Linked DNA regions of Homo sapiens: regions 1, 3, 4, 5 and 6 are each linked to region 2. The links are contacts of gene promoters, found by promoter capture Hi-C in human tissues and cell types (Jung and others, 2019). All regions are on one chromosome and are shown on one strand. The core of a region is centred on a gene start or on the middle of the fragment in contact, and the rest is flanking DNA. Distances in the headings are between cores, read along the strand shown.

Region 1 (4,236 bases), core at 579-3,078, 370 kb before region 2:
CTAGCTTTGTTCTTTTTGCTTAGGATTGTCTTGGCTATACGGGGTTCTTCTTTGATTCCATATGAAATTTAAAATAGTTTTTTCTAATTCTGTGAAGAATGTCAACAGTAGTTTGATGGCAATAGCATTGAATCTATAAATTACTTTGGGTAGTATGGCCATTTTCACCATACTGATTCTTCCTATTCATGAGGATTGAATGTTTTTCCATTTGTTTGTGTCCTCTCATATTTCCTTGATCAGTGGTTTGTAGTTCTCCTTGAAGAGGTTCTTCACATCCCTTGTTAGCTGTATTCCTAGGTATTTTATTCTCTTTGTAGTGACTGTGAATGGGAGTTCATTCATGATTTGACTCTCTGCTTGTCTACTGTTGGTGTAAAGGAATACTTGTGATTTTTGCACAATGATTTTGTATCTTGAGACTTTGCTGAAGTTGCTTATCAGTTCAAGAAGTTTTTAGGTTCAGATGATGAGGTTTTCTAAATATAAAATCATGTCATCTGCAAACAGAGACAACTTGACTTCCTCTCTTCCTATCTGAATACCTCTTGCCTGATTGCCCCAGCCAGAATTTCCAATACTACGTTGAATAGGAGTGGTGAGAGAGGGCATCCTTGTCTTGTATCAGTTTTCAAAGGGAATGCTTTCAGCTTTTGCCCATTCAATGTAATATTGGCTGTGGGTTTGTCATAAATAGCTCTTATTATTTTGAGATATGTTCCATCAATACCTAGCTTATTGACAGTTTTTAAAATGAAGGGGTGTTGAATTTTATCTAAGGCCTTTTCTGCATCTACTGAGATAATCAAAGTGTTCCTATTTTTCCACAGCCTCCCAGCATTTATTCTTCCTGACTTTTTAATAATCATCATTCTGACTGGTGTGAGATGGTATCTCGTGGTTTTATTTGCATTTCTCTGATGATCAGTGATGTTGAGCTTCTTTTCATACGTTTGTTGGCCACGTAAATGTCTTCTTTTGAGAAGTGTCTGTTGATATGTTTTGCCCACTTTTTTGTTTTTTTCTTGTAAATATGTTTTTGGTTTTTGTCTTTGGATCTGTTTATGTGATGGATTATGTTTATTGATTTACGTATGTTGAACCAGCCTTGCATCCCAGGGATGAAGCTGACTTGATGACATGGATTAAGTTTTTTGATGTGCTGCTGGGTTCGGTTTGGCAGTATTTTATTGAGGATTTTTGCATCAATGTTCATCAGGGACATTGGCCTGAAGTTTTCTTTTTTGTGTGTGTTTCTCTTCCTGGTTTTGGTATCAAGATGATGCTGGCTTCATAAAATGAGTTAGGGAGGAGTCCCTCCTTTTCAATTGTTTGGAATAGTTTCAGAAGGAATGGTACCAGCTTCTCTTTGTACTTCCGGTAGAATTTGGCTGTGAATCATCTGGTTGTGGGCTTTTTCTAGTTGATAGGCTATTAATTACTGCCTCAATTTCAGAACTTGTTATTGGTCTATTCAGGGATTCAACTTTTTCCTGGGTTAGTCTTGGGAGGGTGTATGTGTCCAGGAATTTGTCCATTTCTTCTAGATTTTCTAGTTTATTTGCTCAGAGGTGTTCATAGTATTCTCTGATGGTAGTTTGTATTTCTGTGGGGTCAGTGGTGATATCCCTTTTATTATTTTTTATTGCATCTATTTGATTCTTCTCTCTCTTCTTATTAGTCTAGCTAGCAGTTTATCTATTTTGTTAATGTTTTCAAAACACCAGCTCCTGGATTTGTTGATTTTTTTGGAGGGTTTTTCATGTCTCTATCTCCTTCAATTCTTCTCTTAGTTATTTCTTGTCTTCTGCTAGCTTTTGGATTAGTCTGCTCTTGCCGCTCTAGCTCTTTTAATTGTGATGTTAGGGTGTCGTTTTGAGATCTTTCTAGCTTTCTAATGTGGGCATTTAGTGCTAGAAATTTCCCTCTTAATACTGCTTTAGCTATATCTCAGAAATTCTGGAACATTGTCTCTTTGTTCTCATTGGTTTCAAAGAACTTCTTTATTTCTGCCTTAATTTCACTATCTATCCAGGAGTCAATAAGGAGCAGGTTATTCAATTTCCATGAAATTGTGTGGTTTTTGAGTGAGTTTCTTAATTGTGAGTTCTAATTTGACCGCACTGAGGTCTGAGAGGCTGTTTGTTATTATTTCAGTTATTTTGCATTTGCTGAGGAGCGTTTTACTTCCAATTATGTGGTCGATTTTAGAATAAGTGCCATGTGGAAATGAGAAGAATGTATATTCTGCTGATTTGGGGTAGAGAGTTCTGTAGACGTCTACTAGGTCCATTTGATCGAGAGCTGAGTTCAAGTCCTGAATTTCCTTGTTAATTTTCTGTCTCGTTGATCTAACACTGACAGTGGAGTGTTAGAGTCTCCCACTATTAATGTGTGGGAGTCTAAGTCTCTTTGTAGGTCCCTAAGAACTTGTTTTATGAATGTGGGTGCTCCTGTATTGGATACATATATATTCAGAATAGTTAGCTCTTCTTGTTGAATTGTTCCCTTTACCATTATGCAATGCCCTTCTTTGCCTTTTTTGATCTTTGTTGGTTTAAAGTCTGCTTTGTCAGAGACTAGAATTGCAACTCCCATTTTTTTTTTGCTTTCCATTTACTTGGTAGATTTTCCTCCATCCCTTTATTTTGAGCCTGTGTGTGTCTTTGCACATAAGATGGGGCTCCTGAATACAGCACACCAATGGGTCTTAACTCCTTATCCAATTTGCCAGTCTGTGTCTATCTTTTAATTGGGACATTTAGCCCATTTACATTTAAGGTTAGTATTGTTATGTGTGAATTCAATCCTGTTGTCATGATGCTATTTGGTTACTTTGCACACTAGATGCAGTTTCTTCGTAGTGTCAGTGGTTTTTATATTTTGGTGTGTTTTTGCAGTGGCTGGTATTGGTTTTTCCTTTCCATATTTAGTGCTTCTTTCAGGAGCTCTTGCAGTGCAGGCCTCGTGGTAACAAAATCCCTCAGCATTTGCTTGTCTGGAAAGGATTTTATTTCTCCTTCGCTTATGAAGCTTATTAGTTTGGCTGGATATGAAATTCTGGGTTGAAAATTCTTTCCTTTAAGAATGTTGGATATTGGCCCGCAATCTCTTCTGGCTTGTAGAGGTTCTGCTGAGAAGTCTGCTGTTGGTCTGATGGGCTTCCCTTTGTAGGTGACCTGGCCTTTCTCTCTGGCTGCCCTTAACAGTTCGACCTTGGAGAATCCAATGATTAAGGGTCTTGGGGTTGATCTTCTCTTGGAATATCTTAGTGGTGTTCTCTGTATTTCCTGAATTTGCATGTTGGCCTGTCTTGCTAGGTTGGGGAAGTTCTCCTGGAAAATATCCTGAAGTGTGTTTTCCAGCTTGTTTCCATTCTCTCCATCTTCTTCTGGTACTCCAATCAATCATAGGTTCGTTTTTTTAATGAAGTCCCATATTTCTTGGAGGCTTTGCTCATTCCTTTTCATTCTTTTTTCTCTATTCTTGTCTGCATGTCTTATTTCAGTAAGGTGGGCTTCAAACTCTGATATCCTTTCTTCTGCTTGGTTGATTTGGCTGTTGATACTTGTGTATGCTTCACAAAGTTCTTGTGCTGTGTTTTTCAGCTCCATCAGGTCATTTATGTTCCTCTCTAAACTGGTTATTCTAGTTTAGCAATTCCTCCTCCAACATTTTATCAAGCTTCTTAGCTTCTTTGCATTGGGTAAGGACACGCTCCTTTAGCTCATCATAGCTTTTTATTACCCATTTTCTGAAGCCTACCTCTGTCAATTTGTCCCTCTGATCCTCCATCCAGTTCTGTGCCCTTAATGGAGAGACGATGCAATCATTTGGAGGAGAAGAGGCACTCTGGCCTTGTGGGTTTTCAGCATTTTTTTGTTGACTCTTTTTCATCTTCATGAGTTTGTCTAGTTTTGGTCTTCGAGGCTACTGACCCTTGGATGGGGTTTTTGTGGGGCCTTTTTGTTGTTGTTGATGCTGTTGTTGTTACTTTCTGCTTGTTTTTCTTTCAATAATCAGGGCTACTCTTCTCTAGAGCTGCTGCAGTTTGCTGGGGGTTCACTTCAGGCTCCATTCATCTGATTCGCTCCCATGCCTGGAGATGTCACTCAAGGAGGCTGGAGGGCAGCCAAGGTGGGTGCCTCCTCCTTCTTCTGGGACCTCTAACCTCGAGGGGCACCAACCTGATGCCAGTAGAATTGCTCTTGTATAGGGCGTCTGACAATCTCTGTT
Region 2 (4,326 bases), core at 1,393-3,892:
TGCCTCAGCCTCACGACTAGCTGGGATTACAGGCCCCTGCACCATGCCCAGCTAATTATTGTATTTTTAGTTGAGATGGGGTTTCACCATGTTGGCCAGGCTGGTCTCAAACTTCTGACCTCAGGTGATCTGCCCGCCTTGGCCTCCCTAAGTGCTGGGATTACAGGCATGAGCCACCGCGCCCAGCCAACATTCTTTTCTCTTTTTTAATATACTTGCATGAGGTATACATAGTACTTAAACCAATAAAAGAACAAATATCTGAGCTTCTTACCCAGTGTTTTGCGACTTCTTTCCACAGCTGTCCTTCGAGTTTGTTCAAACATTGCTTCCAAGTCAAATGTGCGAGCTTTTTTACCTAAAACATGAACAAATGGGAGACTGTGATTGTCTTGCAGTAAGTTGGCCAAACTTTAGGTGATCAATACTGATCAATAAACACTTACTTTGTCTAGTTTATAGCATGGCTCCAATATAACCATAATATATCACAGAAGAAGGAGTTTGAGTCACAGAAAACTTCTGCTGACAATCCCTTCACTAAGTACTATTAACCAGGCAACTTTCCCATCCTCCTCTAGATCCCTACCCTATGAAACAACAACACTGATGTGGGGAGGCAAAATGGAGAATGCCCCAAAAGTTACCCTTTGCAATATAATTAAGGTTATGGACTTTTAAATAGGGAAACTATCCTATTTGGCCCTTAAAGGCAAAGATGCAGAACAGCTATGGCAGAAGAAGTCAGAGAGATCCAATGTCTGAGAAGAATTTGAGGCATTATAGTTGGCTTGAAGACGAAAGGGGCAACATGAGAAGTAATGCAGGTACTTTAAGGAGCTAAGAGGGAAACAGAAATCTCAGCCCTCTAACAAGGAACTGGATGAGCATGGAAACATTCTCCTCCTCCCCCAGTAACTTTATCAAAACTCTTAAAATTTTCCCCTATTTGGCACAAACATATGGACAACTTTCTCACTCCTGAGTAAAGGAATGATGTACTAAAATGAAGGATTTATACCGGGTGGGGTGGCTCATGCCTGTAATCACTTTGAGAGGCTCAGGTGGGCGGACTGCTTGAGCTCAGGAGATTGATCAGCCTGGGCAACATGGTGAAACCTCGTCTCTACCAAAAGTATAAAAAATTAGCCAGGTGTGGTGGCACACATCTGTGGTCCCAGCTACTCAGGAGACTAAGGTGGGAGGATGGCTTAAGCCTGGGAGGAGGAGGCTGCAATGAGCGAAGATCGCACTAGTACACTCCAGCCTGGGTGACAGAGCGAGACTCCATCTCAAAAAATAAAAAAAGAATAGAAAAGGCTGGGCACAGTGGCTCACGCCTGTAATCCCAGCACTTTCGGAGGCCGAGACGGGCGGATCACGAGGTCAGGAGATCGAGATCATCCTGGCTAACACGGTGAAACCCTGTCTCTACTAAAAATACAAAAAAAAAATCAGCCGGGCGAGGTGGCGGGCGCCTGTAGTCCCAGCTACTCGGGAGGCTGAGACCGGAGAATGGCGTGAATCCGGGAGGCAGAGATTGCAGTGAGCCGAGATCTTGCCACCGCACTCCAGCCTGGGCGACTGAGCGAGACTCCGTCTCCAAAAAAAAAAAGAATGAATAGAGAAACTACAGAACTAGTATGTGTGAACACAACCCAAGGCCAATATGTGTAAGTCTACTGTTTAATTACTATCATAGAATTAATACACGCTGGTCAAAAGAAAACAAGAAGACCTTGAGAAAAGGTTCAGGGAAGTTAGAATCCCAATGTTTGGATGAACAGCATTTATAATTTTAAAATGGAAAATAAAGAGAAATCATTTTTCATGTATCAGTCTACTAAGTTTTGTTTTCATTTTTTAAATAATTTTCTTTTTAAATAATAATACCTACTCTGTGTTGGTAGGGATATGGTAAAAATGGCATTCTTAATTCTGTTAACTTTGGTATAACCTGGAACAAGTTTTTTGATGGGTATTACGGCAATAAGCATCAAGAAGCTTTAAAAGGCACATACCCAATTTTTCAGCTTTTTAAGTATTTATATTTCTGAATAAACTACACTCTCTTTTAGAAATCTACCCTACCGAATTACGTATTTTTAAAAATCCTCGTACAAATGCTGTTATTTACAAAAATGTTCATTTTAGCATTATTGGTGACTTAAAATTAGAAAAATCCTTTCTCTTCCTCTCTCTCCAGACTCTCATAACTGTCATCTGAGTTGGTTCCAACGGATAACGCAGAATAGAAGACAAATGGGAGAAGAATATTGACAAACTGCAAGGTATGCACCCGAGCTACAATAATTCCGAGTTGACAGCTCGATCTCCACTCCCACTCTGCGGATCTTCAAACCTCTGCACAAGGAAGAGGGTCTCTGCCTGGGGCAGTCACTCACCGAACCCCGTGAAGCCCATGGTGACCGCAAGCTGCGGGTCCGGTCCCGACGCGTCTGAGCCTGTCACTGGAGCAAGAGGAAAAGAGAGGCGGCCTAGTTAGTGCGGCGCCCCAGCTCCCCCGACACGGCCCACCCCGCCCGGACTCGCCTCATGAAACCCACCTTCGCTGGGCCCAGAGCGCTCCATGGCTGGCCGCACACCCCAGAACCAGCCACAGGGACAGCCCAAACAACTGCAGGGGAACTTGCCAATAACTTGCGGCAAATGCTGGAGGAAGTACCGCCTTCAAGCTACAGCGGCGCCGCCGAAGCCAAGAGCGGCGCCTTCCGCAGAGGGACCGCGGCTTTCTGCGCGGCACCGCCCTACCGGACAGGCGGGAAAGCGCCGCGCAACTCAGACCACTGGAGGGGAGAAGTAGTATCTGGAGTTTCTATAACATCCTTTCCCTTTTTTTTTTTTTTTTTTTAAGCCAGAGCCTCTGTCGCCCAGGCTGCAGTACAGTGGCGTAATCTCAGCTGACTGCAACCTCTGCCTCCCGGGATCAAGCGATTCTCCTGCCTCAGCCTCCCGAGTAGCTGGGATTACAGGTGCCGGCTAATTTTTGGTTTTTTGTTTTGGTTTGTTTTTTTTTTGTTTTTGTTTTTGTTTTGAGACGGAGCCTCTGTCGCCCAGGCTGGAGTGCAATGGCGTGATCTCGGCTCACTGCAACCTCCGCCTCCCGGGTTCAAGCGATTCTCCTGTCTCAGCCTCCCAAGTAGCTGGGATTACAGGCGTCCACCACCACGCGCAGCTAATTTTTTGTATTTTTAGTAGACACGACGTTTTGCCATGTTGGCCAGGCTGGTTTCGAACTCCTGGCCTCAAGTGATCCGCCTGCCTCGGCCTCCCAAAGTGCTGGGATTACAGGCGACACCCTTTGCTTTTTTTTTTTTTTTTTTTTTTTTTGAGGCAGAGTCTCACTCTGTTGCCCAGGCTGGAGTGCAATGGCGTGATCTCGGCTCACTGCAACCTCTGCCACCCAGGTTCAAGCTCTTCTCTTGCCTCAGTGTCCTGAGTAGCTGGGATTACAGGCGCCTGCCACCACACCCGGCTAATTTTTGTGTATTTAGTAGAGACGGGGTTTTGCTATGTTGGCCAGGCTGGTCTTGAACTCCTGACCTCAGGTGATCTGCCCACCTTGGCCTCCCAAAGTGCTGGGATTACAGGCCCCGTGCCACCGCGCTCTGCCTTTTTGTTGTTGTTGTTGTTGTTGTTGACTGAGTCTCCCTCTGTTGCCTTGGCTGGAGTGCAGTGGCGTGATCTCAGCTGACTGCAACCTCTGCCTCCCAGGTTCAAGCGATTCTCTTGCCTCAGCCTCCCGAGCAGCTGGGACTACAGGTGTGCGCCACCATGCCCGGCTATTTAGTATTTGAGACTACAGGCACCCGCCACCACGCCCAGCTAATTTTTTCTATTTTTAGTAGAGGCAGGGTTTACACCGTGTTAGCCAGGATGGTCTCAATCTCCTGACCTTGTGATCTGCCCACCTCAGCCTCCCAAAGTTCTGCGATTAAAGGCGTGAGCCACTGCACCTGGCCTGTCAGTCTAAAGTTTACAAGGCTAATCGTGTGCTCAGGATTGTCCTTCTTAAACAGAATGTGGGAGTTCAACACTTTAACGTTTAGAAGGTGGAGAAGAATCTCTTTCTTTTTGAGACAGAATCTCACTCTGTCACCCAGGCTGGAATGCAGTGGCACAATCTCGGCTCAATGAACCTCCACCTCCTGGGTTCAAGCGATTCTTGTGCCTCAGCCTCCTAAGTAGCTGGGATTACATGTGACCGCCACCACACCCGACTTTTTTTTTTTTTTTTGAGACAGAGTCTCGCTCCATTGCCCAGACTGGAGTGCAGTGGCGCGATCTCAGCTCACTGCAACCTCC
Region 3 (4,570 bases), core at 1,138-3,637, 290 kb before region 2:
GGAATTTCTTATGTCTTCCTTTTCTACATAGACACAGTAACAGTCTGATCTCTTTTTCCCTACAGGAAAAGTCCCCCCCAAAAAACCAGCAAAGTATTGTGATTACAGGTGTGAGCCACCACGCCTGTTCCACAAAGCCCTAAATATGCCACCTCTGGAAATTGTCAATAATCTTAACATTTTACAGTGGTACCAAAAGTCAGTCAGTTTATATCCAGTAGCTGCCTAGATACCAATGTCTGCCTATTACTCTAGTGTATCTATCAATGCAGGAGAAAGACAGTCTTCAAAATGGTCAAAATGCCTCTCATAAGAAATAGAAACAGTGGAAAAAACTATTTCAAAGGTAAGAATTTAAATGAATTACTGTCTGAAAATAGAGAAAATATTAATAGAAAGATTACTAGTCCTAGGGCTAGGACTACTTGACCTAAAATTTTAGCTTACTACATTTAAGTTTGATCCTGGCCAAGCTGCTAGACTTTTCCAGTTTTCAGTTTATTAATCTTTAAAATAATATGCCTTGCAACCTCCCACCCCTGCCCTTCTCCCCCACTCACAAAAAGACTGAGTTACAGTTAATCTGCTATTTCCCTGTCTTATGTCAATACTACAGGTTTATTAAGTCTATCATGCGTACCTCTTCTCAGAAAGGTCCTAAAATGCAACTATGCTGCAAAACACAAATTCCAATAATAAGATGAGCCAAACGCTAGGCTACCTAACAAACTGGGTGTACCAACATTTGACTGTCCTCTCATACCTATCCCTATGACCTCTCAATAGAATTGTTTTTTCTCCTCATTGGGAATCTGTTTTCAAGCTTAGTGGTAACCAAACAATTCCAATAATTCTATGTTTTCAATCACATGTTAGGGTTACTTACTATACCAGGATTTAAAGTACTCCAATATGCCAAGATTTAAAAAATAAAATAAATCCAGGTCTAGACTGAATATAACTTTCTCCTGTTTCTCTGATTTTAGAGACCTGTAGGAAGGACAATGCGGATACAAGTATAGAACTGTCATATAAAGGTGCTTTGCAAATCCATATAAATTCAACTAATATTTACATGCCAAATATTGTCCCAGCCACTGGCGATATAGCAGTGAACAAAATAAAGACCCCATTCCGTGAAGGTTTCATTTCAGTGAGGGAAAATGGATAACAAAATATCTCTAATAGATTTTGTGACATTCAAATTAATATACTATATGAAAGTATGGTATAATGATGAAGAGCACAGACTATAGAGCCAGACTGCTGAGATCAAATCTTGGCTCTTCCACTTACAAGTAGTCACAATTACTTGTGATTCCAAGGTCACATCTATATGATCTTGGGCTAATCTTCCTATGCCTGTTTCTTCAACTATTAAATGAGAATAGTAATAGTACCCACTTCATAAGCTGCTGGGAAAATTTAATGAGTTACTGAAAATGTGGCACACCCCTTTACAATATAATTTTGCTGTTCTTTTTATCAAGATGTGGCATCTGTTTCTCTATACTTTGTATCTTGGTATGGACACGCGACTTGCTTTGGCTTATGAGAAATGTAGCCTCTCACACCTCCCATCGTGAAAAGCATAAATGACTGACACTCTCGCTGCCTCTGTCACTGAGTATGCTTTGCAAGGCCTGAGTGTGGAGGATAAATGGAATTCCAGTTAGCTTGGCCAAAACTTTCTTAGCATCGTGCAGTAGTCCAAGATCCTTTCAGCATATACTCCCCCTTTTTTTCTTTTCTTTTGATATAAGATTTTTATTGAGACACAATTCACATACCATGCACTTTGCTCACTTAAACTATGTAGTTCAACGTTTTCAGTATATTCCAAGAGTTGCGCAGCCACCAGTACAATCAATTTTAGAACCTCGCACTACCCCAAAAGGAAACCCCATACACATGAGCAATCACAATCACTCCCTTTTTTTTCTTAATATTTCAGTCCTAAGCAACCACTAATTTAGTTTCTGTGTAGATTTGCCTAAACTGAACACTTCATACAAATGAAATCATAAAACATGCTGCCTTTTGTGACAGCTTCTTTCATTTAGCGTAATGTTTTTGAGGTTCGTCCATGTTGCAGTATGTATCAGCACTTCATTTCTTTTTATTGCCAAATAATATTTCACTGTATGGATGTACCACATTTTATTTATCCATTCATCAGCTGATGGATATTCAATATTCCATTCTTTCCTCTCTCCTTCACAAACGCATGGTCTACATCATGGTCTGACTCTCTCCAGACTTCTCTGGCTCCCTCCCCAATTTCCCTTCTAGGTACTCCCCAGTAAATCTCTTACACATTTAATCCTGTCTTGGTGTCTGCTTCTCAGAGGACCCAGACTAACACAAGTGGTACCAGCAGTGGTCTGACAACACAGGTGGTAAGAGGAGAATCTGGGACTGCCTCACTCATTGCCCAGGAGGATAGCTTCAGTCCAGGAGTTTGAGGCTGTAGTGAGCCATTACTGCACCACTGCACTCCAGCCTGGGCTACAGAGCAAGACCCCTGACTCTAAAGAAAACAAAATGTTTTTTTTTTTTTAAAAAAAAGATAATTATGTTCCAGGTCAAGATGTTTTCCCCCTTCCCTCTCTCCTTCCTTCCTTTCTTTTAAAGAAATAATTTAAAAACAAAAGACAGTGGGATCTGACAAAGATTTCTGAAAAGTCCATTCAGCATCCCCATAATGTAAAAGTGAAATAAGGAAGTTTTTGGAATCTACATTTACAATGTCAACAACATTTACTGAGAACCTGTTATACACACAACACTGAGATATATAAATAAAAAGAAAATACAGAATTTTCTTGAAATAATTTGCAAGTTGGGAAAGGGGGAAAACATGTATGACCTCATATTCTTTCATAAAACATTTATTGCACCAACTATAAACCAGGCATTTTGGAGGGCACCAAAATGGCTAAGAATGCTCTATGCCATTAATGAGGAAGCTCACAAATGAGAAAGAGAGTGTGCATTTACAACCAGGGTGGAATCTTCCAGGAGGGTTCTCTACTTTCAGTCCAGGTTCACTATTGCAACCACTGGGATTTCAGAAAACAGCTATGACTTAGCATTTATTTTTTATCTGTGTTTGGCAAAGAGATAACCCAGCCTTCATTCATAACTGGCCTATGTTGTAATTATATGCCTGTTTGGTCATCTCAAACCAGGTGACCACAGTGTGTGACTACCTAGGACTCTAACTGATGACCAGCTGGAAGCTGCAGCTGCGGGAGAAAGCTCAACCACTTAGATGTGTGAGTCACAGGCAGAATATGATGCCACCGCTCTGGAATCTTCTGGCTCCCTGTGTGCTTGCAACTTGAAATTGAAGGTGTTTACTTTAGTCTATAAAACAAACCCCTTATGGCTAATGCACAAGTTACCTTCACATTAATCTCTCTTCTTATAAACCCTAGTTGAGACCAGTTGGTATATCACTTAGGCACTCTAAATTTATGCTTCAGAAATCTGAATGCAAAAAAACATTTTAAGTCCTACAGAAGACCCATGCTTTTAGAATTTCAAGAAGGCATGAAATGAAACATCCTGTCTTTCTTGGACTTTGAGACTCTAATTTATAATCTTCAGACATCATACAGAATCATTCAAAAAGGCAGATATTATCTGATTAGATGACTTAAATATCTGGTATATTTTACTGTTCTGATGCTAAGCAAAATATAATTTTTACTGGGAAAAAAATGATACAACTAACACAGAATTTCATATGATATTCTGTAGGTCTCCAAATGAGGATATCACCTAAATCACCAAGAGGAATGATTTAGAAAGAAAGTCCTTCCAGAGAGAAAGCCCAAGAGCAAGGGTTCCTAGAGAATTGTTTTTTGTTTTGTTTTGTTTTGCTTTGTTTGTTTTTGTAACATCATCATATTAGGGGACTACAGCCAAGTAAGCCTGCGAAACTAGAGTTTATTTGCACACCATGGCCTTGTCTTGAAGATTCACAATAAACATGAGTATATTAAAAGCCAAAGTCTTTTAAGTAGTAGTCCTAGAATAAATCAACCTCCTTAACATTTCTAAAGCTTATTTGACTATAGAACCTTTTTTTTTTTTTTTTTTTTTTTTTTTCAGATCGTACAGACTAGCATGGATTGAACTAACATTCTCTGGACCTCACTGGAGAAACATATACCTAGAGCAAGGTCTAGCAAACTTTTTCTAGAAAGGGGCTTATAATACATATTTTAGGCTTTGAGGACCATACAGACTCTGTTGCAACTGTTCACTTCTCCTGTTGTAGCATGAAAGCAGCCATAGCTAATACATAAACAAATGGATAAGGCTATGCAATCCAGCAAAACTTTATTTATAAAAAAGAGGACAGGCTGAATTTGGCCCACAATTAGCTCACTTTTATCTGGAAAAAACTAAAACCTTAGGAAAAAGACCTCTATTTGTCAAATCACTGTTAGCTAAGTTAAAGGCCTCCTGTGATTCAGTAAGAATTTTAAATGGCAACATTAATGGTGGTGGAAATAATAATAATGATGATAATAACAGCAACAGCTACAGTTACTGAACA
Region 4 (2,500 bases), core at 1-2,500, 380 kb after region 2:
TTAAACTTACATGATTTAACAAAGTGGAAAGCTTTGACCCATCCTGAATATTCTTCTCCAAGATATTTAAGACTTTCACAGTTTTGTCAGTTGAAAGCTAAAATAGCAATATAAATTCTTTATCAATCGTTGGTAAAAGTTATATATTATTCAAGAAACAATCTGTACAATTATTCCCTTTGAGCTATGGAGGAAATAGCATTGTCACCCTCTTAAAGAGTAAGAAAACTTTCCCACTTAGAACTTCTACTCAACGACCCTAAATGACTAAAGCAAATGTCAAAGAAAAATTTAATATATTTCTGCATTTAAATAATCTAAATATTTGAGAAAATGAAAAAAAAAAACTCTGGAAAAAATTAAAGTCCATGCCTCTTTCAATGCAGTAATATGATTCTCTTTAGAATAATCTGCAGAATACTTTTTTCTTTTGTAAAAAAACAAAAAAACTCATTTAGACTCTCAGAAGTCAACAATGAGTTTTCTTTTTACTATTTACTTTACATAAATTTTATAATTTACCCTGAAAACCTTAAATTAATTTCAAATGTTTCTATGAAGTAAATTTATAAATTTTACTTTGGTGAGATACCTTATCCATTATACCCATTGCTTTTATTTTAGCAGATTCACTGCCAAGTTCATTAAGCTGATGTTTTCCTAAGAGCAGTTCCTGAGGAATTTCATCATCATCACCTGCAAAATCAAGCCAAACAAACACAAACAAAGTTTAGGTAAATAAAATAGTTCAAAATGTCAAGCTTAACTTTCTAATAAAATTTTTAGACATGCAAACTAAACAAATAACCTAAGACGCCTCTATATATAAACCTCAAGTAAACCCTGAATGAAAAAGGACAGAAATTGAAGTCAGATTTATGACTGAAATGGGAAGATGAGATAGATATCTTATCTTTACTACTTTAGATATACTCTTGACTCTTTCTCAACCACATTCTCTGCCTCAGGAGGCTGACCTGAATGGACTACATCAAGAGTCTCCCATGCCCTCTGGCTTTTGTTTGGGTTTGGCCAGTAGGGTGCCCTGTTAGAAGATCAAAGAGGAGTGTAAGGTCAAAGTATTTATATCTCTTACTCTTTGCTTACAAGGTCTCCTCAGGCTGGCTCTGTCCCCTGACCAAAAGGTATTGCTTCTTTCAAGGCAGCCTACTCTACAACTTTTTTTCCTGCAGAATGAGTTCTGGTGACTTTTCTGTATCCTCACTCTTTTGGTTTAAGGCTGTTAACCCTGGGTTCTGGTATTATTTTGCCTCCATCTTTTTAACTGGTCTCTTTGTAAATAACTCCTCCTCATATTATCCTATTTTGAGAGTGCCCTTTGTACTTTTGGACCCTAAATGATACAGAAGACAATTTCTCAGCACAGAACTGTAAAGTTTTAAAAAAGATGAAACTGACATTCTAAATAATCAGCAAACACAATGATACTCAGGCAAGTAATTCTCACAAAACAAATACTTACTTTACCAGCTGAAGGTGGCATAAGATTGTTAAGAATAGCTCTATACATTGCAAGCAGTGTTTTTATAAACATTTTAATATTTATAGATGTAATCTTTATGTCATTGTAAAAGTAATACATGAATATAACATTAATCCTACTGTATTCTAACTGGTTTACTATTTTGTTTTCCATATTAGAATCTGTATTCCCTAAAGCCAGGTGTTTGGGTTTTAGTTATTTTTACATCTCCAGCACTTAACATACTACTGGCATACAGTAAGTATTCAATAAATATTGGTCATTAGAATAAATGAACAGAAGAATAGATGCTTATTTCTGCATATATGCTCCTATCAGTACCTTCATTATACAGGGCCTTTTCAAGCCTCCTCACCTGCATAAAGACTTTTTAAATTACTCTCACTTACTCATGATTCTTTAGATACTATCCAGACTTGATTAATATATACTTGAGTTTTGTACTAAAGTTTTTAATTTCTTGGTAACAGACTAGATTTGACTTTACAACTAGATTTCAAGTTTCTTGATAGCACAGAGTATGCCTCTGTATCCTCTAGAGTAACTGAGTTAAGCCTTAAGTATTTGTGTATTTATCATAGTTAGGGATTCAGAAAAGAGCAGTTGCTAGTCAAATAACAGACTAGAAAGTTTATCATTGTCAGCAACAAGTGATCACAACAACAACCAGTATATGATTTCAAGGTAGGACACATCACTAGAGTAACTGAGTTACTCTAGAGGATACAGTTAAGACACTTAGAGTATGTGTAAATGTATTTTAAGTTGATTTTACCAAACGCAGTAAAATCCATATCTTCCAAATTATCCAAAATATTCTCTATTGAGGCTGTGAATCTCTTAAAAGTTGAAGAGTCCATCATTTCTGCAAGAGAGAAAAATATATTCATTATTCTCACATTACAAGTAGACATGTGAAGCTGAAGAATATGAATAAAGACAAATTAAATAAACTAACGTGTTACCTTCAGGTGTTAGTTTTGGTTCATATGCTTT
Region 5 (4,361 bases), core at 17-2,516, 270 kb after region 2:
TGCAGCATACAAAAAAACATGGAAGTGCTGGGCTTGCACCTCAAACCAAGCAGGTGTGTGTAGAGTATGAAAGAGAGGAGACTGTGGTGAGTCCCTGGACGATACCTTCAGAAATCCATAAGATTCTTCATGAGAGTCACAATTCCCTTCTACAAGTAAGCATTGTTCTAGATTTTGTTTGTCTAGTGATTGCTCTATGTTCTTCAGGTTTTTTGTTTGTTTGTTTGTTTGTTTTTTAGTTTGTTTTTTGTGGGATGTGGAAATACTGAAAAGTTGTTAGGTCAGTTTGAAATCGTGATGCAAAGCATCTTCCCTTTTGGCTTAGTACTTCAGCATTTGTCTTTCAGACTTCTCTGTGACTGTATTTTTTAACTAAAAAATGACCAAAATGTAAGAACATAAAATCGTACTACAAGTATCAACATCCGTTCTGCCCTGTCTTCACATCTGGTGCCAGCATCTCGTTGTGTGAGATGATGTTCAGCTCTTGTCCATCTGGATGTGCTGGGCAATCACAGCCCTATTTCCTGGCACATTTCCTTCAGCCTTTTGATGGATGAGCAACTCTAGAATTTTTGGAAAGCTTAGTTCACGTTCCAGGTTTTTTTGTTTTTGTTTTTTTGTTTGTTTTTAGGGGCTAGGACCACAATTGTCTTTTCAATTTAATAGGACTTGTCTCCAACTGAAGAGGAAGAGCCAGAGCATCCTTTTGGGGTGGGCGGTGTGGACAGCGTGTCTGAGAGCACTGGCAGCATCCTCAGCAAGCTGGACTGGAATGCCATCGAAGACATGGTGGCCAGCGTGGAGGACCAGGGCCTGTCTGTCCACTGGGCCCTGGACCTGTAAGACCTGGATATCATTGGGTTTCCATGCACAGGCCAGCACCTCAGTAATGTGGTTCTGAAAGATTAACAGGTTTAAGGGACAGAAGCAATGAAAGAAGCAATGTGAATTTTCCATTTGCTTTCATATTATTACCTGGATTAGCCATTACCAGAGGAAAAATAAACATTTCTCAGTAACTTTGCCTTTATGGGGAAAGGGTTGACTATTGATGTATTATATGTTTTTGTATTTGATGCATCATTAGGCATAATTTTTAAAATGATAAGTACCTTTCAAGCCAAGTTTGCATAACCTACTTTCAATAAAAACCCTCTATCTTGCCTCCTCCTTTATTACCCTCTGAGTTTTGAGAAACAACCATATACAGATGAATCTAATAGGAAAAAAAAAAATCTTTTCATTGAGAAGAAAATCAGTCTCACCTGAGAACTCAATTATGAACCCTATTTTAAAACACCTATGCAGGGTTTAGCCTAGGAGTGAAAAGAAAAACCAACTACCTTTTACCAACCCTGAATCTCTAAATAAGCAAAGTTTCATGGAGGCCAGGAGATCTTCTGTCTTCTGCCCTGTAGCCTGAAGCCTTGGAGGAAGAAACAGGAATGGATGCTTTGGGCAGGAAAGTAAGGGAATATGACTCCGGCCTCTAGAAGGCTCATCTTAAATTTGTAAGAACCATGGTACAGAGACCTGATTAGTTTTTGGTATTGTGCTCCAATAATGTCATAGTTTTAAGAGATAATTTTTATGAGAATTGACTAAGAACCAGTATCCTTCAACTACTTCATCAATGTTTGGTATAATATAAAAGCACACTATCATCTGAAAAAGCTATTAAATACCCCTCTTTTTCCAAATATCTACCTGTGTGAAGCCAGGTTTTACAACATGTATTGCAGCAAGTTGAATGCAGAAGCAGGTATGGTAATTCAGCTGCCTTCTATCAAGCTAAACATTAAAGAGATTTGTAGAACTATAAAACAATGCTACTCTCCTTACCAAATTGTTTTAGAAAATAGCTTTATAGGCTAACATTATTGTTAATTGTCATTTAATTGTTTTGTCATTTAAAATATTTTAAATTGTTTTCTGTTAGTTTCTTTTTTGTATATTCTATGGGTATTTTATTGATACATGATAGTTGTACATTTTTATGGGGTGCATGTGATATTTTGATATGTGCATACAATGTGTAGCAATCAAATCAGGGTAATTGGGATATTCATCACCTCAAACATTTATCATTTATTTGTGTTGGAAACATTCAAACCTTTTCTTCTAGCTATTTATCCATTGTTGGATACTTATATCAATTCTATATCTTAGCTGTTGTGAATAGAGCTGCAATAAATGTAGGAGTGCAGATATCTCTTTGATATACTGATTTTCTTTCTTTTGTATATATACCCAGCTATGGGATTGCTAGATCATATGGTAGTTCTATTTTTAATTATTTGAGGAACCTCCATACTGTTTTCCATAGCTGCTATACTAATTTGCATTCCCACCAAGGGTGTATGAGCATTCCCCTTTATCTGTATGCCCACAAGCATTTATTTTCCATCTTTTGCTGGAAATGACTATTCCAGCAATAAATAAATAAAATGACTATTAGTCATTTTAACTGGGGTGCAGCGATACCTCATTATGGTATTGACTTCCTTTTTTCTGATGATTAGTAATATTGAGCATTTTTTCATATACCTGTTGGCCATTCGTATGTCATCTTTTGAGAAATGTCCATTCAGATATTTTGTCCATTTTGTAGTAGGATTCTTTTTTGTTACTAAGTTGTTTGAGTTCTTTATATATTGCGGTTATTAATCCTTTGCTGGATGGGTAGCTTGCAAATATTTTCTCCCATTCTTTAGGTTGTCTTTTCACTTTGTTGATGGTTTTCTTTGCTGTGCAGAAGCTTTTCAGCTTGATGTAATTCTATTTGTCAATTTTTGCTTTCATTGCCTGTGCTTTTGAGGTTTTACTCAGAAAAAATCTCTGCCTAGACCAGTGTCCTGAAATGTTTCCCAAATGTTTCTTTCAAGTAGTTTCATAGTTTCAGGTCTCATATTTAAGTCTAATCTATTTTGGTTTTTATATGTGATTTATACAGGTGTAGTTTCATTCTTCTGCAATAGACATCTAGTTTTCTTGGCAGCATTTATTGAACAGGAGAGTATCCTTTCCCCATTGTATGTTCTTGATAGCTTTACCAAAAATGGGCTGGCTGTAAATGCATGGATTTATTGATAGTTTTTTGTTTTGTTTTTTGTTTTGTTTTTGTTTTTGTTTTTGTCTTTGTTTTGAGACAGGATCTCACTTTGTTCTCCAGGCTGGAATGCAGTGGTGTGATGTTGGCTCACTGCAGCCTTGACCTACCAGGCTCAAGCGATCCTCCCACCTCGACTACCCAAGTAGCTGGGACTCCAGGTGCGCACCACCATGCCTGGCTAATTTTTTGTAGTTTTCATAGAGACAGTGTTTCATGTTGCCCAGGCTCATCTCGAACTCCTGAGCTCCAGTGATCCTCCCGCCTTGGCCTCCCAAAATGCTTGGATTAGAGGGATGGGCCACTGCACCCAACCTATTGATAGCTTCTTTATTCTATTCTATTGGTCTGTGTTTTTATACCAGTTCAGTGCTGTTTTTGTTTTTGTAACTGTGTACTAATAACACATGGAGAGATGGAATTTCACTTTTGTCACCCAGGCTGGAGTGCAATGGCACAATCTTGGCTCACTGCAACCTCCGCTTCCTGGGTTTAAGTGATTCTTCTGCTTCAGCCTCCTGAGTAGCTGGGACTACAGGCGCCTGCCACCATGCTCAGCTAATTTTTGTGTGTGTGTGTGTTTTTTTTTTTAAGTAGAGATGGGGTTTCACAATGTTGGCCAGGCTGGCCTTGAACTCCTGACCTCAGGTGATCTGCCTGCCTGGGCCTCCCAAAGTGCTGGGATTACAGGCATGAGCCACCATGCCCGGCTGAATTATGGTGTATTATTATTTTTTAGACAGAGTTTCACTCTGTCACCCAGGCTGGAGTGCAGTGGTGCAATCTCGGCTCACTACAACCTCTTCCTCCAAGGTTCAAGCAATTCTTGTGTCTCAGCCTCCTGAGTAGCTGGGACTAAAGGCACGTGCCATCATGCCCGGCTACTTTTCTGTATTTTTAGTAGAGATGGGGTTTCACCTTGTTGGCCAGGCTGGTCTCTTAACTCCTGACCTCAGGTGATCTGCCCACTTAGACCTCCCAAAGTGCTGGGATTACAGGCATGAGCCACCACGCCTATCCTGGAGCATAGTTAGAACCCAGTGCAAAGAATCTAAGAACCATGATAAAACTACAGGAGCTGATAGCCAGAATAACCAGTTTAGGGAAGAAGAAAACTGACCTGATAGAGCTGAAAAACTCAACACAAGAAATTCACTGTGCAATCACAAGTATCAATAACAGAATAGGCCAAGTGGAGAAAAGAATCTCAGAGCTTGAAGACTATCTTTCTGAAATAAAACATGCAGAC
Region 6 (3,501 bases), core at 1,002-3,501, 420 kb after region 2:
GGTACTTAAAGCCATGCTCCGTAAATCTTCTTATCTCAAACACATTAGTTATTTTAACATTTTTTGTCTGTATGAAATTACATTACTAAGATGGTAGCTACTTCAATTAGCATATCAGACTATTTCCATATACAACATTTTAAGGCAAATGCAAAGTGGATTACTATTTAAGTATTTCAACTATTTAAACTCTAAATAATCCACCATTACCTAAATGTATGAACCATATATTCACCAGCATATTCACCATACAAGACAATATTTAATAAACGATATATACATATATTACCTGGAGGGGCTATGTGAGATAGTGGTTTGTTGATAATTGGAAGATGCAGGACTACTGTGCATGGAATTCTGAGAAAGTTTATACTGAGACATCATCATTCCTATGCAAAACACAAAAATACAGAACGTTATTTTCTTCTAACAGTAAAGTGTCCTTTAAATAACTGAAATCAGTTATTCTTTCAAACATTCCAGAGATTTTTTTGATCAATGTTTTCATTTCAAAGAGCAAAATATAGACGCTGTAAAACTGTAAATTTCAAGAACAATTTTATTACAACACCATTTTCCATAAAACTAATCCAGGACTAGAAACAGAGATTATAATATTTTAAAAAAATTTACTTGCTTACTCAATATTCTATTATTTAGCCTTAGAATTGAAAAGATTTTTTTAAAAGTTGTCTTATCTAACCTCGCACCTAACACAATACACTTCCTTCTACAACGGGACTCAGGGTAGTTTTTATTACATGAATATTTTATCATATACATCTCTCATGCTTGGGAACTTAATTTCACAAAGCTATTTGTATTATCATGGTTCAGACACAGGTTTTGAAAAGTACTTTATTTATGGGCCGAAAGTTTGAATTCCTGCAATTTCCACCTGAATGTCTTCTGAAGCAAAACAGAATGTACCTATTCCTTCTTTCACAATAACTCTTTGTCACATAGTAGGGATTAACGGAATATTTTATTAAAAAATAAAAACCTGTGAAGAGCATTCTGGTTCTTACATTTATTTCCAAGCTAGACATTATTTCTCAATTATTCACATGACATTTCATTATATGGGAGACACAGAAAAATTCACTTATTTAGACATTTCAAAATCAGATAAAAATCTACAAATAACACCCTGAATTTTCTTATGATTTCTATAGCCAATCTCTTTTTTGGCAGCTGCAAGCATCAAATTGTATTTCCAAATTTCATTTCCTGCTGTTGTTATAAAAAGTGGCTTTCACTAGAAATATTCAAACAGAAGTTGATTTGCTAAGAGTACTACAAAAGAGATTGTAGCTGAATGAAATTAGGTTTCAAAATCGCCTCTAAGTCTACCATTGAAGGGTGTTTTCTTAAGTATGTAGTCTAAATTTCAACTTCTGACTTTTCTTTTCCAACTCAAACTCAGCACAGAATTGTTTTGCTCCATAGCTTTAATAGCTTAATTACTATAATTATTGTTGCTGGAGGTTTTTTTTTTTTTCTTTTTCTTTTGGAGGGAGATGAACACTCAATGAGACAGGAGTTAAAAAGCTTTTCCCCCCTGAATTAACAGCCATCACTGGGACAAACTGGAATTACTAGTTTGAAAGCAATGGCTTTCTAAATAAAACGGGTAAATGAAATTCTAACAGTCCTTTTCAATTAATTCTAAGTTCCAAAGAACTATGATTAAAGTGATTTGCATTTTATTACAATTTTCTCCACATGCATGACTCATATTTAAACTTACCAACCCCAAAATCAACTTTTTAAATTTCTATTTTATTTTTATTTTTTATTTTTCAATGAGACAGGGTCTCTCTGCATTGCCCAGGCTGGTCTTGAACTCCTGGGCTCAAGCAATCCTCCTACCTTGGCCTCCCAAGTGCCAGGATTACAGGCGTGAGCCACCACGCCCAGCCAACTTTTAAAATTTCAAAGCCATATATCACCAGGAAAATGCTTTAAAAAAAAAAATAACATGCAATTAATTGATTAATTTTAAATGCTAGTTTATGCTTTTACAAAGTAGGGTATACAGAAATCAAACAATATTTTGGACTAAAAAACAAGTATATGTAGTATAAAACACAAAATATGTGACTGAGAGGTGAACACTCTAAAAGTTTTTATCAGAGTGATTTACTACCCAAATACTCAAAAATGTAAGTTGCAAAAATGTAGTATTAGTAGCCTTAGATTCATTTATCCAATATTAGATTTACTCACATTCTCATAAAACTAATACTCCTACTCTATTAGTCTTTCTTCCACTCAACTCTCTTTCCACATTTTCTTTCAATTCCAACATTTTTCCAGAAAGCCGTCATAACTCTAGCTTCCTTCATTATTTATATCTGTCTCCTACTATTGCAATCTAACTTATTAGTTCTGGTGAAGTCAGAGCCCTGTCGTGCATACCTACCTTCAACTTGCTAAAAGGCAAGTCGGTCAGAAGCATCCCCATTATGCATTTTGAGGAATCAATAGTAACTATGCAATTGCTTTCAAAATACCATTCAAACAACACAAGTACACAGAATCAGCAAAGCAATATTATTTAAAGGAAACAGAATGGGAAGCATCATGGAAGTGCTGCCAACAAAGTAAACCAAAACCAAAATGAATTTGGCAAAATTATTTTATTTATTTTTTCTTTTTGTTTGGAGACAGGGTCTCGCTCTGTCGCCCAGGCTGGAAGGCAGTGGTGCAATCTCAGCTCACTGCAGCCTTGACCTCCTGAGCTCAAGCGATCTTCCCACTTCAACCTCCCAAGTAGCTGGGACTACAGGCGCACACCATAATGCCTGGCTAGTTGTTGTATTTTTTTGTAGAGACAGGTTTTCACCATGTTGCCCAGGCTGGTCTTAACTCCTGGCCTGAGGCAATCCACCTGCCTCAGCTTCCAAAAGTGCTGGGATTACAGGCGTGAGTCACCATGCCCGGCTGATAAAATTCTTAAATACAATTATTTAATTAACAAAGTTGAACTTTCTGAAGTTGTCCAAGCTATTCCTGCCCTATTTTAATCTTGAGAGCCAAACAGGCACTTGGGCTTGTCAAATTCAGTAAGCTTGAACAGAACAATGCTCTTAACCCAAAGGTACTCCATGACTACATAAAAATTATATCTGTGTTGGATGTAATATTTTTATTATTTTATAATACCATGAATCAATTTTTCTTTAATAATAATACTTAACCAATTTTTCTGTTGCTAAGGCAACAGGAGTATTAAATCAATTACTAGAAAACCATGAATATAATCACAATCAGTATTAAAACTCTATATACCTGCTACAATGTACATGTTCAAAAGCTTTGCAAATATTTATTTAATTAATGAAAGACTTATTTCAAATTAATTCTGATTTTCTAAAACAAAAAAATTTTTAAGCTGAGTAAACTGATATATTCCAACATATTTAACAAAATACACTTAAAGCTTTGTCTAATTCTCAAGGAATTTAGTTACATATTAAACTACAAGAATCTTATCAG

Evidence for each region. Contacts are between HindIII fragments. The study calls those that stand out against the background at their distance.
Region 1: a fragment that was not itself captured here is called in contact with the fragment with the promoter of WDR70 in region 2 in 1 of the 25 tissues and cell types used here (lymphoblastoid cells).
Region 3: a contact is called between a fragment that was not itself captured here and the fragment with the promoter of WDR70 in region 2, in 1 of the 25 tissues and cell types used here (IMR-90 fibroblasts).
Region 4: a contact is called between a fragment that was not itself captured here and the fragment with the promoter of WDR70 in region 2, in 1 of the 25 tissues and cell types used here (lymphoblastoid cells).
Region 5: a fragment that was not itself captured here is called in contact with the fragment with the promoter of WDR70 in region 2 in 1 of the 25 tissues and cell types used here (lymphoblastoid cells).
Region 6: a fragment that was not itself captured here is called in contact with the fragment with the promoter of WDR70 in region 2 in 1 of the 25 tissues and cell types used here (heart right ventricle).

What each region holds. Positions count from the first base shown.
Region 1 is chr5:37,743,976-37,748,211 of GRCh38, reverse strand. All of the region lies in intron 17 of WDR70 (WD repeat domain 70), which reads right to left. Among named protein-coding and RNA genes, the nearest start is that of GDNF-AS1, 94 kb to the left of the region's middle. The HindIII fragment of the contact is 8,823 bases long and covers 1-4,236 here.
Region 2 is chr5:37,377,634-37,381,959 of GRCh38, reverse strand. WDR70 (WD repeat domain 70) reads right to left here and starts at 2,642. Exons shown (of 18, transcript NM_018034.4): 1 at 2,568-2,642; 2 at 2,406-2,471; 3 at 275-358. The coding sequence starts at 2,592. The HindIII fragment of the contact is 7,487 bases long and covers 1-4,326 here.
Region 3 is chr5:37,667,391-37,671,960 of GRCh38, reverse strand. The region is part of intron 10 of WDR70 (WD repeat domain 70); the gene reads right to left. Among named protein-coding and RNA genes, the nearest start is that of GDNF-AS1, 170 kb to the left of the region's middle. RefSeq lists an enhancer at 3,140-3,434. The HindIII fragment of the contact is 5,236 bases long and covers 1-4,570 here.
Region 4 is chr5:37,000,858-37,003,357 of GRCh38, reverse strand. NIPBL (NIPBL cohesin loading factor) reads right to left here. Exons shown (of 47, transcript NM_133433.4): 13 at 2,470-2,500; 14 at 2,280-2,369; 15 at 593-696; 16 at 11-97. Among named protein-coding and RNA genes, the nearest start is that of NIPBL, 130 kb to the right of the region's middle. The HindIII fragment of the contact is 4,085 bases long and covers 1-2,500 here.
Region 5 is chr5:37,104,087-37,108,447 of GRCh38, reverse strand. It overlaps CPLANE1 (ciliogenesis and planar polarity effector complex subunit 1), which reads left to right. Exons shown (of 53, transcript NM_001384732.1): 52 at 1-155; 53 at 670-2,213. The coding sequence ends at 846. Among named protein-coding and RNA genes, the nearest start is that of CPLANE1-AS1, 140 kb to the left of the region's middle. The HindIII fragment of the contact is 5,050 bases long and covers 1-3,791 here.
Region 6 is chr5:36,958,372-36,961,872 of GRCh38, reverse strand. It overlaps NIPBL (NIPBL cohesin loading factor), which reads right to left. Exons shown (of 47, transcript NM_133433.4): 5 at 290-389. Among named protein-coding and RNA genes, the nearest start is that of NIPBL, 83 kb to the right of the region's middle. The HindIII fragment of the contact is 5,778 bases long and covers 1-3,501 here.